Linked DNA regions of Homo sapiens: region 1 is linked to region 2. The links are contacts of gene promoters, found by promoter capture Hi-C in human tissues and cell types (Jung and others, 2019). All regions are on one chromosome and are shown on one strand. Each heading gives the region's core, a stretch centred on a gene start or on the middle of the fragment in contact. The rest is flanking DNA. Distances are from core to core; before and after follow the strand shown.

Region 1 (7,008 bases), core at 353-2,852, 420 kb before region 2:
GCAAAATTTAAATGAGATTTTTTAAATGGCAAATCTAAATCACATGTTGACCTAACTGTAGGCTTTAACTGCATTGTCTGTCATATATTTAAACTGTTTACTAATCAACATTTTAATTACAGCATGTGCTGGCAGACCCTAGGACAAATAAAATCTAGCATTTAAAAATGTTACTGCAGTCTATTACCCAAAAATAATAAGGCTCTTAATAAAATTGGGAAAAAATGGAGGAATGAGAAAACAGTAAACTTTGTTGGCACAGCACCGTCCTAAGGTGTGGAGACTGTTCTGGATACTTCTCAGCCCCTGATCTCACCTTGAAATTCTGCTGGTCTGAGGCAGCTTCCTCTTCATGGACCTGCAAGTGTGTTGCCTTTGATGTTGATTTATATGTAATTAGGGAACTACTTTGCTTTATATATTTGAGTCCCTGGTTGCAAGCATTATTTACTTAAACAATGTATAGCTCTGGGGCCCCCAGGCCTTCTCCCCTTTTTTTTATATGGAGATAAGATGTTTCCAGAAATTTGATTTGGCCTCAGCCAGTCAGCAGCCTTTTGTCCTGCCTTCCACTCACCTCCTTGTATCACTGCTGGGTTATACAGGCTGTCCCCAGGAAGGTAGCCTCAGGCTGTCTTAAGTTTGGAAAGTATTTCTCTATTTTATAAATACTCTGCTTCATTATTGAAGGTAGATGGGTAAGAGAGTCACCTTGAGCAAGTTACTTCACCCCTGGAAACTTTAGTACCCACTGCATGGAAAGGGGATAATAGTGACCAATTTACTGTTACTGTTTTTGTAAAAAGGCAAATAAGGTGAAGCACATAAGCACTTAATATAGTAGTTGGAAAATAATAGGTTCATAAGCAATGTTTATTCCTGCCATCATCCATATTTATTTGCTAAAACTAGTTTTTAAATTATGATTAAAAATTTGGCCAGACATGGTGGATCATGCTTAATTCTAGCTCTTGGGGGGCTGAGGCAGGAGGATCACTTTCGCCCAGGAGTTCGAGACCCGCCTGGGCAACATAGTGAGACCCTGTCTCTACAAAAACTTAAAAACTAGTTGGACATGGTGGCACTGCCTGTAGTCCCAGCTTCTCAGGATGCTGAGGTGAGAGGATCACTTGAGCCCATGAGGTAGAGGATGCAGTGAGCCATGATTGTACCATTGCACTCCAGCATGGGTGACAGAGAGAGACCCTGTCTCAAAAAAAAAAAAAAAAAATTACACAGTACAGAAGGATATACAGTAAGAAGTTAGTCTCCTTCCAATCCTCCATATCTTCCAGCCCTAATCTCTAGAGATAAGCATTGTTAATAGTAGCTTGGGTATCCTTCTAGAATTTTTAATTCTTTTTATTCTGCACCTTGCTTTTTTACTTAGTGAGTCATTGAGGTCTTTCCATATAATATAAAGATCAACCTTATTCTTAATGGCTGTATAGTATTCCATACTATGGATGTATCATATTTATTTATCCAGGACCCTGTCATAGGATATTTTGACCATTTCCATATTTTTTTGTTATTAAGACAGTGACTGTGTCTCTATGTATACATCTTTGTATACTGGATATGAGAATGTTAGCTCTTCTTCTTCATCTCTTCTGATACTAAATTATCAGATTTTAATCTTTGCCAACCTAATCAGTGGCAAAATGGTATCTAGTTGGCCAGGCGTGGCGGCTTAACGCCTGTAATCCCAGCACTTTGGGAGGCCAGGTGGATCACCTGAGGTCAGGAGTTCGAGACCAGCCTGGCCAACATGGTGAAACACTGTCTCTACTAAAAATACAAAAATTAGCTGGGTGTGGTGGGGGGACCCTGTAATTCCAGCTACTCTGGAGACTGAGGCAGGAGAATTGCTTGAACCCGGGGAGGTGGAGGTTGCAGTGAGCCGAGATCGCACCATTGCACTCCAGCCTGAGCAACAAGAGCAAAACTCTGTTTCAAAAAAAAAAAAGGATCTAATCATTTTAATTTATGTTTATTTTATTAAGTATGAGGATTAACACTTCTTTCATATGTTTGTTGGTCACATTTTTTTTTTCACATTCTTTGCCTGTTTTTCTGTTGAATGTGTTGTCTCTTCCTTCATCTTGTTGAAGATTGATTTTTCCATCTAGACAGTGAAGGGGGTGGACACAATTTCCAAGGCCCCATCCCACTTCTGCAGTCTGTGGTCCAGGCCCGAGTGTCCTTTGGGCAGCTTTTACACTACCAAGGTGCTATTTGCTCATGACCTTGTCAAGCAACATTGAGGTTGAATAGCCAATAGCTGGGGGTAAACTACAAGAGAGTCGTTTTCTTTTCCCTTTGTTTGGTTGTGTATCTTTCTTCCACTCTTAAAAAAGCAGGCTTGGAAATTGCAAGGCAGAGCTGGATTGAACTTCCTTTAAAGCAGCCTGTAGACATCAGGAATATTTATTTTTTCTATTTGTTTTAAGCCTGGGAAGACTGTGTGGTTTTCTCAACACTGTCCTGATGGAGCCCTGACCAGCAAGCGTGCAATGCCCCTAGCCCTAATGTGCCATTAATGATAGGTTAATGTACAGTATAATGTTTTTGGGACTACGGGTTCATTACACTTCTGAGTGTGAGGTCTTTCCACAGAGCGCCCAAGGTCCCATTGCATTATATCATGCAATAAAAATACCCTTTTCATATCACACACTAATAAACTGTATTTGAAATGCTGTCTGAGGGCACTGCCGTCTTGTCTGTAGGCTGTGCACAAGTGCAACAGTTGGGATTCCTTTTTTCTATTTTGTGGTTTAGTTACATGGAATTCTAAACCCAGAAGTCTGCTCATTCTTGTTTTAAATGGGGAGCAAGTTGGGTCTTTAGGGCTGAGGCTCAGAGGAGGGGCTGCTTACTGAGTGGTGAGGGTCTTTAAGATGTGGAGAGCAGCCTTTAATTCTCTACTGCAGCTGTCAGGAGAGCCAGTCACATAAAAACAAACAAACAAAAAAAAAAAAACCTGTGTCCTAATGTCTGCCACACTTAGTGCTGAACATGTGTTAGGTGTTATAAAAGTTTCCTTAGAAAAGGAGTATGATAAGTACTGCAAAATTTAGGCCACTGATAGTTATGACTATGGAACTGCCTCTGGGCTGGGAATTTCACACACACTGTCCTGTGAGGTTGATGCTGTTCTCCATATTTTACAGAAGACGAGTCAGAGCTAGGGGGAATAAGCTGTGTTGTAGAGAATGAAATCCATAGGACTCCTGGAAACCACAGGTAAATTATTACCTGTCTACCCAGAGAGAGCTCCTCACGCCATGAATAGTCCACCTGTGAGACATCCGAGCTGCAGCTGGGCAGGAGCCAAGCATCTTCTTTTCAAATGCACATGGCCCTAGTGCCCTTCTTAAGTTATTCATACTTTCCTGTGAATTGGCTTAATGTCAGCAGTTAGCTGGCATAAGATGACTTTGAAGCTTTGGAAGAGGAGACTCTTCTGCATTAAACAGGAAAAGGGGCATTGGAGTTGAGGGATGAGGCAAAGACTGAAGGATCAAAGGGCTTCAAATCACCTGTTTCATATTTTCTCTAAGGCAGACTCTGACTTTGTTATGCAGGGGCTTGTTTTGACCACTTGTGGAGTGTGGGGAAAGACTGACCTGTGAAGGCCAAGAACCTCAAGAAACTTGGGCTCAGGCATCATTACCATCTTAGAGTGCAGTGTCCTTGTTTATAAAATAGGTTATCATTTACTTTCTGATAGGGCTTTTGGAGATCACATGAACTAATGTAAATGAAAGCACCTAGTGAGCACCTGGCACAGGGTAAGTGCTCACAACTGGCTGCTATTATATTGCACATCATCACAAAAGGCACAGGTTTGGGAGCTGACATCCAGTGCAAATCCCAGCTCTACCTTGGCCAAATCCACAAATTGAGGGAAGTAACAGTAATGCCATCCAGCTGCTTTATGGGGTTGTTGTGACACTGAAATAAGATAATGAGCTTGAAAGCCGGTTGTAGAATGAAAACCACTACTCAAATGCTGGTATCAGTAAATATAAGCATTTCTCTCTCCAAATCAACATATTCAAACTGGGTTGTCTTTAAATAAATATCCTTACAGCAAAGGCAGTAGGAGCAGCTATTAGGAAGATTCACTGATCTGTTCCCCTCACCACCAGGGAGAATGTCATGGCTGCAACAAAGACTTAAAATAGCACAAAGCATATAAAAGTCAGGGCAATTCTTACCTCCTACCTCTTCATAACGACAGAGCACCAGGCAGAGGAGGGGCAGGGCCAGGTCTCTGCTCACCTGCATTGGTGAGAAGAGAGCCAATACCTGCTCAATGTGGACAGTATTGCTTAGAACAGTGGTGGGAGGTCAGGTTTGCAAAAGGAGGTTAAGATCAAAGGAACTGTGTTGAAGGGTTGAGTTGGTCTGGTGGAAAGAAAAAAACTAGGACGTTGCTAAGACCCTCCTGCAAAAGACTGGACCTTCTGGCTCTAGGCAAAGTCCCCTTAATTGTTATGAGAAGAGTATTTAAATTTCAAGGATAATTAGTTTTTCTCTTAAGGGGTATAGGGTTAGACTAAACCTTTTATTTTTAGATGTGAGGTCTTTGAAACACTTGGATACACCTCTCAGGGGTTAAATCTGTCTTTGGGGCTACCAGGACTTGAAAAATGTTGCTCTGTATCAAGAAAACCAGAAGTGACAAGTTCATTTAAAAAGCCTGGTTTGTCATTGTTTATCTAATTTTCGGGGTTGACACAGAAAATTAAACCAGCTGACACTCACTCTCTGACCGTCTCTCTGGCTCATTTCCCTGGTCCTTTCCTACCTGACCTTGCAACTACAAAATGCTCCAGACCCTAAAATATAAAACTTCCCACTGAGTTTCTGAGTCACCCTGCAGTCATTCCAAGATTATGTCATTGGATGTCATCCCTAATGGTATTAAAAATCAAGATGAAGTTGTAAATCTGCTCTGTGAGATATTTCTTTTCCGCCCCCCGCTTTGACCATAAATCTTAAAAGTAATCAAACTCTCTGCAAAGAAGCCAAGGTAAACTTGGGCCCAAAGCGGCCCCGTATGTCTTTAATGAATTCAGAGGATCGGCAAGCTTGTCTGTCCCCGTGAGATCACATGGTGCTTCATGGCAAACTTTACAGAAAAGTGGGCAAAGTGAGAGCCTTCATTGTGTTTAATATGGATTTTCTAAAACTCACATGGCAACATCATAGGTGGATGAGCTGCTCCATGTAAGAAAATTATTCAGATAACTGTAGTGTATTCTTTATAAAATCAAACTTTAAAAAATTACAAGCAAGAGGTCTTAAATGTGTTATAACACTGCTCTATCCTCTTAAACAGATTACATGCATCAGGATTTAATTTTTTACAAAGTTAAATTTACTTCCAGCTACTCGGGAAACTGAAACAGGATCATCTGAGCCCAGGAGTTCAAAGGTGTAGTGCGGAATGATTGTGCTTGTGAATAGCCACTGTGCTCCAGTCAGGGCAACACTGTGAGACCTCATCTCTAAAAAAAAACAAAAAATTCTTTAGCTCATTATTATGGACATTGTCTATTTGCCATGTTCTATACCAGTATCTCCTGATATTGACACGAGTAGGGCCATTTGTCCCTAGGCTGGTTGACCCCAAGCTGGTTTTTTGTTTTTGTTGTATAGTTTTGCTAGTAGATGTCATTTCTTGCTGCTGTTCTTGTTCCTCCCTTTAACACACCTTCGTCTTCTCCTTCTATTTGGCTGTTTCTCTTGTGCTTTTAATTGGGAAATCAGATACTAAGCTTGTTAGAATCAAGTCTAAAATACAAGAAAGCTGGCTTAAGGAAAAGCTTGAGGCACTACCTAAAATTAAAATGTTCAAGTTCTAGTTTAACTTCCATATTCTTAGTCTGAGATAAGGGTGTCAAAGTATAGTGGTCTATAGATTGTAAAGTGCCCCTAGATTTGGAAACTGGCCATTTCACTGTATAGAAAATATACTCTTTGATCACGTTGTATATAAATGTCCAAGTTTGAAGCAATATGATTATTTTGATCTTGAATCAGTAATTAAGGTGGACTTCAAACTGTTGAGGTTTTATTTTCTGAGAGGACCAAAGAGTCATGAATGTGCCAGGGAAAGTCCTTAGGTTCTAAAACCAGACTTAGATCTAGGCACATAGAAACCGCTCCACACATCCATAGTGAATCTTATTGAATTAAAGACCCTTGGTAAAATAGACACAGCTACCATTAGAAGGAAGCTTGCAACTGAATAACTTGTCTTTCTTAACAGTGGAAATAGACTTTGGTTTCATGAGGCTCTGCAGTGAAGGTGGCCAGCTTATTTGTAACCAAAGTGTGCTCCCTCAGTCATTCATTCTGCCCATGACCAGTGACACCACCTTGGAAAATGCAGGTCACACCAGTCACCACCATCAAAAACGCATTTCAGGCTTCTGTACATTTAATTTTCTTCAACATTACCTTGGAAACCACAGTAAATCAATAACAGAATAGTTAAATACCACAGGTTCTTTGTGTTTTGTTTTAGAAAATATTGCTCAAGGCTAAGAGTGAGTTCTATTGATGATTTTTATTTGCTGCTGGGATGCAAAACAATCAGAATTTTCGAAGAGTTTGCTTCCTTTTTGTGCATTTCCTTTTTTAAAAAAGGAGGGGTCTGTTTCAGATGGAAAACATTGGTCGCTAATAGCAGAAACTTGAGAATAATTGGTAATTTTCAATCCTGTAGAAAACTAGACTAGGTCTGATGACTTTGACCTTTGTTACGCTCTTCTTCCAAATTTTCCCCAGCCAGCTCCCTGCACTCCTGACCCTCAGCAGCCCATTCCACTGAGGGTCGGGTAACTCTGGAACATCACAGCTGAAAAAAAAAAAAAAAAAAAGACGGTACTTCATTTAGCGTTATTTACATTTACCCAAAGTTTTGATGTTTTGATGTCCAGTGTCTAGCAATTTTTTCCTCTGTATTTTTTGTTGATTTGATAGCAGCAA
Region 2 (7,212 bases), core at 4,593-7,092:
ACCCACCTGCTGGGCCCCTCCCCTCTCCCCGTTGTTCCCACCACCACTCACCTATCCCGTGGGTCTGCAGGTGCCGCTGCACCTCCCCTGGCGTCGGGCTGGCCCCCAGGCACCTCATGGCCACCATGAGGTCGGTGGCTTTTATCTTCCCCCTCTGCTGCTTGTCATACAGGGAGAAGCATTCCTTGTACTCTGCACACGGCCCAGAGGGAGGGTCAGCAGCGTCTGGTCACTCTCCGCCCATGCCGCCCTCCCCATCCTTAGTCTCTTCTCCCTCTTTTCCCCTTCCTTTTGCCTACTCCCTCCATCCCTCTCTCCCCTCCCAAGGGTGCTAGATACAGCAAATGAAAATACAGGACTGCCAAGTTAAACCGAATTCAGATAAACACTGAATATACTTTTATTGTATGCCCCAAATTTTGCATAGGACATATACTTCTATTGGAAAAGTATTTGTTGTTTGTCTGAAATTCTAATTTAACTGGGTGTCCTGTATTTTATCTGGCTCCCCTTCCCTTTCTCCCTACTCCCTCCCTTCCTTCTCCCTCCCCCTCCCCGCCAACCCACAGGACTGGAACTCCCAGGACAGTGCCCCTCCAGGGCCCACAGGGGAGAGCAGGAACCCACAGCAAGGCGTCCAGACCCCCAGGGGACCTCTGCAAACACAACTTTTCTGGACAATGGGAATAATAAGGCCTCAGGATTACTGTGAGAGCCAGAAATCCCAGGAGGCCTGCCAGAGAGTGGCCTTCATATGATGATATTATCATCATCATCAGAGCTGGGGCATTTCTGAGCCTATTGCCCCTGCCCTGGCCTCCAGGCTGCTAAACCCTCAAGCTGTCCTTGGACTCGGGCCCTGGTCCTGTTCTTAGAGACTTCAAAGGGTCCTGCTGGGAAATTCTCCCAGGGTCTGAAGCCCTTTCTCCTTCGGTACTTGGTGGAGGTGGAAGGCAGCCGGAGCTAGCTCCCCTAAACCCACAGACTCCCGGCCTGACACAGCCATCCCACGGGCTCCCGGCCCTGGGAGGCCCAGGAAGGCCAGCTGGGAGTTCAGGAAAAGTCCCTGAACCGCACTGACTGAGCATCTGATTTAGGGGTAGGTGGGGCTGCCATCAGGACAGGGAGATTCTCGTCCAGCCCAGACGAGGCACCCGGGCCTGTGGGTGGAGCCGTGGAAACACAGTGGCCTGGCGCTGGCCCTCCCAGGCTGGGGCTCAGGGCTCTGTTCTCTCTCCTGCTTCTCACACCACCCAGGTAGGTCCTTAGAGGCCTGGACAATAATAGCCCCTTAGCTGATGACAGCAACAATGACAATTCACGTTGCTGAGCACTCCACCCCCAGGCCCTCGCTTCATCCCCACAACCCTGTGATGCGCCCCCTCATATTCCCATGTGCGGACAGGACATTGAGGGCTGGAACACTGAGAGCCTGGCTGTGGGCAGCTCTGCCCACCAGGCCACACTGCCTTCGGTTCCAGGGCAGACACCACTGAGAGCAGTAGGGTGAGGGAGAGGATGCAGAAGGAGCCCCCCAAATCCCCAGCCCAGACCAGGGGTCCCTTCATATTCCCTAATGAAGGCACTCAGGCCTCCCTGGTAGGATTTCAGGGGGGTCACTAAAGACAGGCAGATCGCCATGTACCATTTAGAGACAAATTCGCGGCCTTTGTGGAGAGACTGAGAGGAAAGCCCCAGCCCCGCACAACTGCCCTTTCAGAACATTCCAGAGCCTGAGCTTCCGAAGGGGCAAACCAAAGTCAGGACCAGGTGGCAGGGGCCAAAAAGGCCCAGGGGAAGCAGGGCCAGAGCCTGGCCTAAGACCCCAGGTTTAGTTCCCATAAAACCCAATTGCCTGCAAGAGGGCCCAGTGCCAGAGGGGACAATGCCATCACCTCACGTCAGGGGGACAGAGAGAGGGCTGCCCCAATCACAGAGCTTAACCTTAGCACTACAGGGGGTACCCCTGGGGACCTCTCATGGCCACCCTCACCTTGTCTTTCTGTCTGGGTTTGCCCTTGGGTGAGGGTGGGCCCAAGGCCCACTGCTCTCCCTGCCTGACCTGTGCTGGAAGGTGCTCATCACACCCTTGGGGTCCAGAATCAGCCTGGATCTGCAGATGGGGGCACTTCACTACTCCCCGACAAGCCCTGTCAGTCACTGGGGGCCTGTGGTCCTTGCCAGCAGCAGGGCCAGGGCTCAAATAGAGGCCCACCTCCTCACAAACCTTCACATCAGATACGTGCTGTCTCCCTGCCTCAGACGCCTTTAAAGACCTGGAAGGCCACATCTGAACTTTGCATTCCTGCACTGGAACAAGACAACAGGGTGCTGGAGACCCAGCTGGGCTTCCTGCTGGCCCCTTCCTCCACCATCTCTTCACTCTCCCTCCTCACCTCCTGGCTCTCCTTCCTGCTTTTTCTCCTGACAGGTCGGCCCTCTAACATACTAGCACATATATTTCACCACGTTCCCCTCCCTCGATGGTGACCCCCTGTGAGGAAGGGATTTTTGTCTTTGAGTTCACTGTTGTATGTAGCTCCAGGCACAAAGAAGGGACACAAACATTTGTTGAATGAAAGGATTAATTGGGTTAAATGAATTGGATTAAAAATCCCCTTTAAGTCTTCTCTTTGAAAATGCAAATCCCCCAGGACAAGAAAGAGACCTGTGCAAGGCCTAGGATAACACCAGCTGTGCTGGATGTTTAACCACCAGCTCTGATCATAAATGTACTTGTGTCCTCTGCACTGTACAAACATAAAGGATGTGTAGCACACAATTTACAAATAATACAGAAATGTACACTATTCTTTATTATAAATTCCATCTAGGGCTGGGTGCAGTGGCTCACGCCTGTAATCCCAGCACTTTGGGAGGGTGAGACAGGAGTATCGCTTGGGCCCAGGAGTTCGAGACCAGCCTGGACAATATAGTAAGACCTCATGTCTACAAAATATTTACAAATGTTTTGTGTGTGGTGGTGCATGCCTGTAGTCCCAGCTACTCAGGAGACAGAGGTGGGAGAATCCCTTGAGTCTGGGTGGTGAAGGTTGAAATGAGCGGAGATCATGCCATTGCACAGAGCAAGACTCTGTCTCAAATAAATAAATTCCATCTAGCCACTTGATTACCACAAATGAGTTTTGCCAACTTTTTTTTTTTTTTTTTTTGAGAGAGTTTTGCTCTTGTTGCCCAGGCTAGAGTGCAATGGCACAATTTCAGCTCACTGCAGCCTCCACCTCCCAGGTTCAAGTGATTCTCCTGCCTCAGCCTCCCAAGAAGCTGGGATTATAGGCATGTGCCACCATGACCGGCTTTTTTTTTTTTTTTTTTTTTTTTGAGACAGAGTCTCGCTCTTGTTGCCCAGGCTGGAGTGTAGTGGCTCAATCTCGGTTCACTGCAACCTCCGCCTCCTGGGTTCAAGTGATTCTCCTGCCTCAGCCTCCTGAGTAGCTGGAATTACAGGTGCCTGCCAGCACACCAGGCTAATTTTTGTACTTTTAGTAGAGATAGGGTTTCACCATGTTGGCCAGGCTGGTCTCAAACTCCTGACCTCAGGTGATCTGCCTCCCTCGGTCTCTCAAAGTGCTGGGATTACAGGCATGAGCCAACTGCACCTGGCCAGTTTTGTATTTTTAGTAGAGATGGGGTTTCACCATGTTGGCCAGGCTGGTTTCAAACCCCTGACATCAGGTGATCCACATGCCTCGGCCTCCCAAAGTGCTGGGATTACAGACGTGAGCCACTGCACTCAGCCCAAGTTTTGCCAACTCTTATATCCATTGCCAACCTATAGTTTCGATTCAACCATGATTTGACAAATGAAGCTGCGCGCCAATGAGTGCGATTCTTTTTCCAATGAATGAATGGTCATTAAACCTGATGTGATCTACTGTTAAACTATTTCTCACCCTTTTACCAAACACATTCATTAAATTGAAACTTCTTTCAAATCTCCATCTCCACTGATCACAATAGGGCTGTCTTTTTAACTTTTTGTACAGATAGATGTAGGGATTGAAACACTGTTTGATCCTACATTATTTAATAATGGCTGGCTTTAACATCCTGCTTGCAAAATTCCTAAAACTATGGCTCTTGCTAGCTGTAGTGAGCCAGCCCCAGCCCACATGTGGGTGACACCTGGCTATGCCTGGCCCAGCGTCCAGCATGTAACTGACATTATTCCCCTCTGTCCGTGGCTCGCAGCAGCCTGGTAAGGTGGCATATCCTACTTCATAGGTGAGAAAACCGAGGCTCAAGGGTGATTAGGCTTCAGGTCTGCTGCCTCCAAAGCCCCTGTTCTTCCCACTTCGCTAGGCCACCCCATCCAGTCTTTCACACACTCATTAAACACTGGTGGCCACTTTCTTGGTGTCAGATACTGGGATACAAAGACAATTTACCTTCTTCCCTTCTGGGAGCTTTGGCTATCCCAGGAGGGAGGGTCAGTGAGCCTCAAAACCAGGCATGGGTGGGAGGATGCTGAGGCTGAAGGCTGGACTCCAGCCCTCAGTCCACCATTCATTATCACCGTTAGACCTGGACAAGAGGGCACTGCCCCGGGCCCTGTGTTTTAAAAGTCCCTGCTCCTGCCCTGGCCCTCCTCTTGGGATAAAGAGTTCCAGGGTTCTACGTGGAGGTGCCCACCTGGAGCTCACAATTCCTGCCCCTCTGGACCAAGCTCAGAATACCCAGAACTCTGGAACTCCTGCCCAGGTAACCCTAACCCCACTTGGCTGGGCTCTCAGGACCCTACCCTGGATCACAAGGGCCCAAGGTGCCTGTAATTTTATCTCCAGTGGTCAGCGAAGGACTCACTGAGAAGGCGATGTTTCAGCAAAGACCTGGAGGAATGGGATGCCTCGGGGGACTCTCAGGCCCATTGACGTCCACTGTTGGGACAGGTTTCAGGGTCACAACCTCAAGCAGCAGCTGGCTGTGCCTCCTGGGCCTCTCCTGCCAGGTGCAGGGGGGCTGCAGCCATGAGGCTCCCCTGGCTCAGGTCTGGGCCCCCAAGTTCTTTGTAACGCAACTCTTTGCTCTTGGCCTTCTGGAAATAGAACCCTGCACGGTGTGAAACTGAAGCCTGGTCGAGGGCTGGCAGAGTAGGGGACCCAGGGAATAAAGTGCTCACGCCCAAACCAGGCTTGATGCCAGGGCAAAGGGGGCTCAGTGGACCCTCCATTTTACAGATAGGGAGACTGAGGCGCAGAGAGTAGACGCATCCTGCCAGAGAGTGCAGACCTGGCCTCTGTTCTGTCTCAATTACAAAGCCCCTCCTCTTTCCCTGCTGCCAGCCATACCTTTAATGGTCTCTCTCTCCATCCCCAGTCCCCTCAGTCCCCAAATCCAACTGGTCAGGTTCTGGAGGGAAACCTAGTAAGTTCTGTCTTAGCGCCCTGGCTTGTAAGTCACACTGACAAGTATAAAGCCACATGTCTATTTTGGAGGCTTACCCCCAACCCCCACCCCGCCAACAGCAGCCTCCCCGCAGCTCTTGGCCCTGGGTGGGCCCAGCTCTCCCACAGCCACCTTCCTTCCCACCAAGAAAACATGAGCAGAGCAAATTGCCTAATGAGACCCATATTTTGCTGAGTTGCTAATCAAAGAACAAACCCAACCTACCATTAATTTGGTCTTGGGAAAGAAACTTGGCCTGCAGCAGAGAAAGGAAAACAGTCAGGGGAGGGCTCCACCTGAGGTTCACGCCCCCAGCCCTGGCCAGGCCGACACAGACCCTCACACTCACCATTCTGGGGCCTCGGCTGCTACCCGTGGGCTTGCTGCTCCCAGAACCGCGTTCAGTTCCCTTTCCTCCAGCCTCAAGTCTAAAGTCTGCCAAGCTGGGTGGAGGCCCGGGTAATAAATGCTCGGCTGCCATGGAGACTGGGCCCGACGCCACCAGGGTCAGATTCCAGCTTCCTGAGCACAGCTCATGACCCGCCACCTGGGCAGGTTGGATTTTTGAGGAAATGGGGCTGCAGAAGGCTCTCCCTGGGCTCAGAGTCTCTGCCTCCAGAAGCCGAAGCAAAGGGACAAATGCCAGTGTTTCTTCCCGGGAGCCCTGGACTCCAGGAAGGGGTCTTCTCTCTCTCTCCTGGGACTCGGCGGGGATGCCATCAGGCCCCTACTAGAGTTGGACACTTTACACCCCGGGTCGTATTGAAGGCTCCTCACACACCATCTTGTAGGAGGAAGGGAACCCTTCCAAGACGGCCTAACTCAGAGATGGGCACCGGGGCTCGCAGGCTTGGGGCTCGGTATTGCAGGGATACAAGCTTCGGTGCTCTCAGGCTGGGATTCAGTCCTCCCCGTCTGCTGACTTGCTGAGTGACTGGCGAATCATTCTACCTCAGTCTGTGCCTCAGTTTCCTCACCAGCTGAATTACAGGGCAGCTGGCAAAATCAAGTGGCCAGCGCACAGCCGGTTCCCATCCTGTGCCAGTTCAGTTCCCACCTTCTGAGGACTTTAAGGGTGGTGGAGGGGCCTGAGCCGGGTCTCCAGCCCCACCACAGGCTCCTCGGGGGCTTGGAGTGAGGCCTCTTAGTGCCGGTTACCCTGGCCAGGAAGGCTCCCCTTTTCTTCCTTCCCTTCCTCTCTCCACCCTCAGCCCCACCCCTTCCGCAGAAGCTGCTGACGCTCCCAAGTCTTCAGGAGTTCGTGCTGCTCCCCTCCCCCACATAGGAGGAAATGGGGGCAGGGTGTGAGGCCTCCCCAGCTTCTTCCCCTTGAGATCCCATTTCCCTGTTTGGGGCGTGAGGCTTTTGTCCACAGCTGAGTCTATGAGGCTCTACAAGTAGGTGTGGCTGCACAGGTGTGCCCTACACAAAGGCCCCCAGCCCAGGTGCGAGTGGTTGCTGGCCAGGGGCTGCACTGCCAATAGGAAGGGGGGCATTGTGCCACTTTGCACACAGGCGCATAGACGGGAGGCGCTGCCTGTGCCCCACTCTCCCCTCCCCGCTCCTTTCCTGACCGCCTCTGTGTGGAAAGTGTGCTTTTCTCCCAAATCACATCCCCAGAATCGCTTTACACCTGTTTCTAGACCCAGAGAATTTTAGCTGGGGACTCCGACTCCTCCCTGTCAGAGTTTGAGGCTCCCCCTCCCAAACCCCATGGCAGGGATAAGAGGAGGGAAGGCTGCCTCTGTGCAGAGGATGGAGAGAAGGACATCAAGGAAAGTCACTTGGGACTCTGGAAGCCTGAAG

Evidence for each region. Contacts are between HindIII fragments. The study calls those that stand out against the background at their distance.
Region 1: a fragment that was not itself captured here is called in contact with the fragment with the promoter of CALML4 in region 2 in 1 of the 25 tissues and cell types used here (dorsolateral prefrontal cortex).

What each region holds. Positions count from the first base shown.
Region 1 is chr15:67,787,759-67,794,766 of GRCh38, forward strand. The region is part of intron 21 of MAP2K5 (mitogen-activated protein kinase kinase 5); the gene reads left to right. Among named protein-coding and RNA genes, the nearest start is that of SKOR1, 34 kb to the right of the region's middle. RefSeq lists an enhancer at 3,096-3,965. The HindIII fragment of the contact is 5,345 bases long and covers 1-4,275 here.
Region 2 is chr15:68,199,490-68,206,701 of GRCh38, forward strand. It overlaps CALML4 (calmodulin like 4), which reads right to left and starts at 5,843. Exons shown (of 5, transcript NM_033429.3): 1 at 5,756-5,843; 2 at 5,632-5,662; 3 at 52-192. The coding sequence starts at 5,758. RefSeq lists enhancers at 1,032-1,803, 6,542-6,836. The HindIII fragment of the contact is 22,474 bases long and covers 1-7,212 here.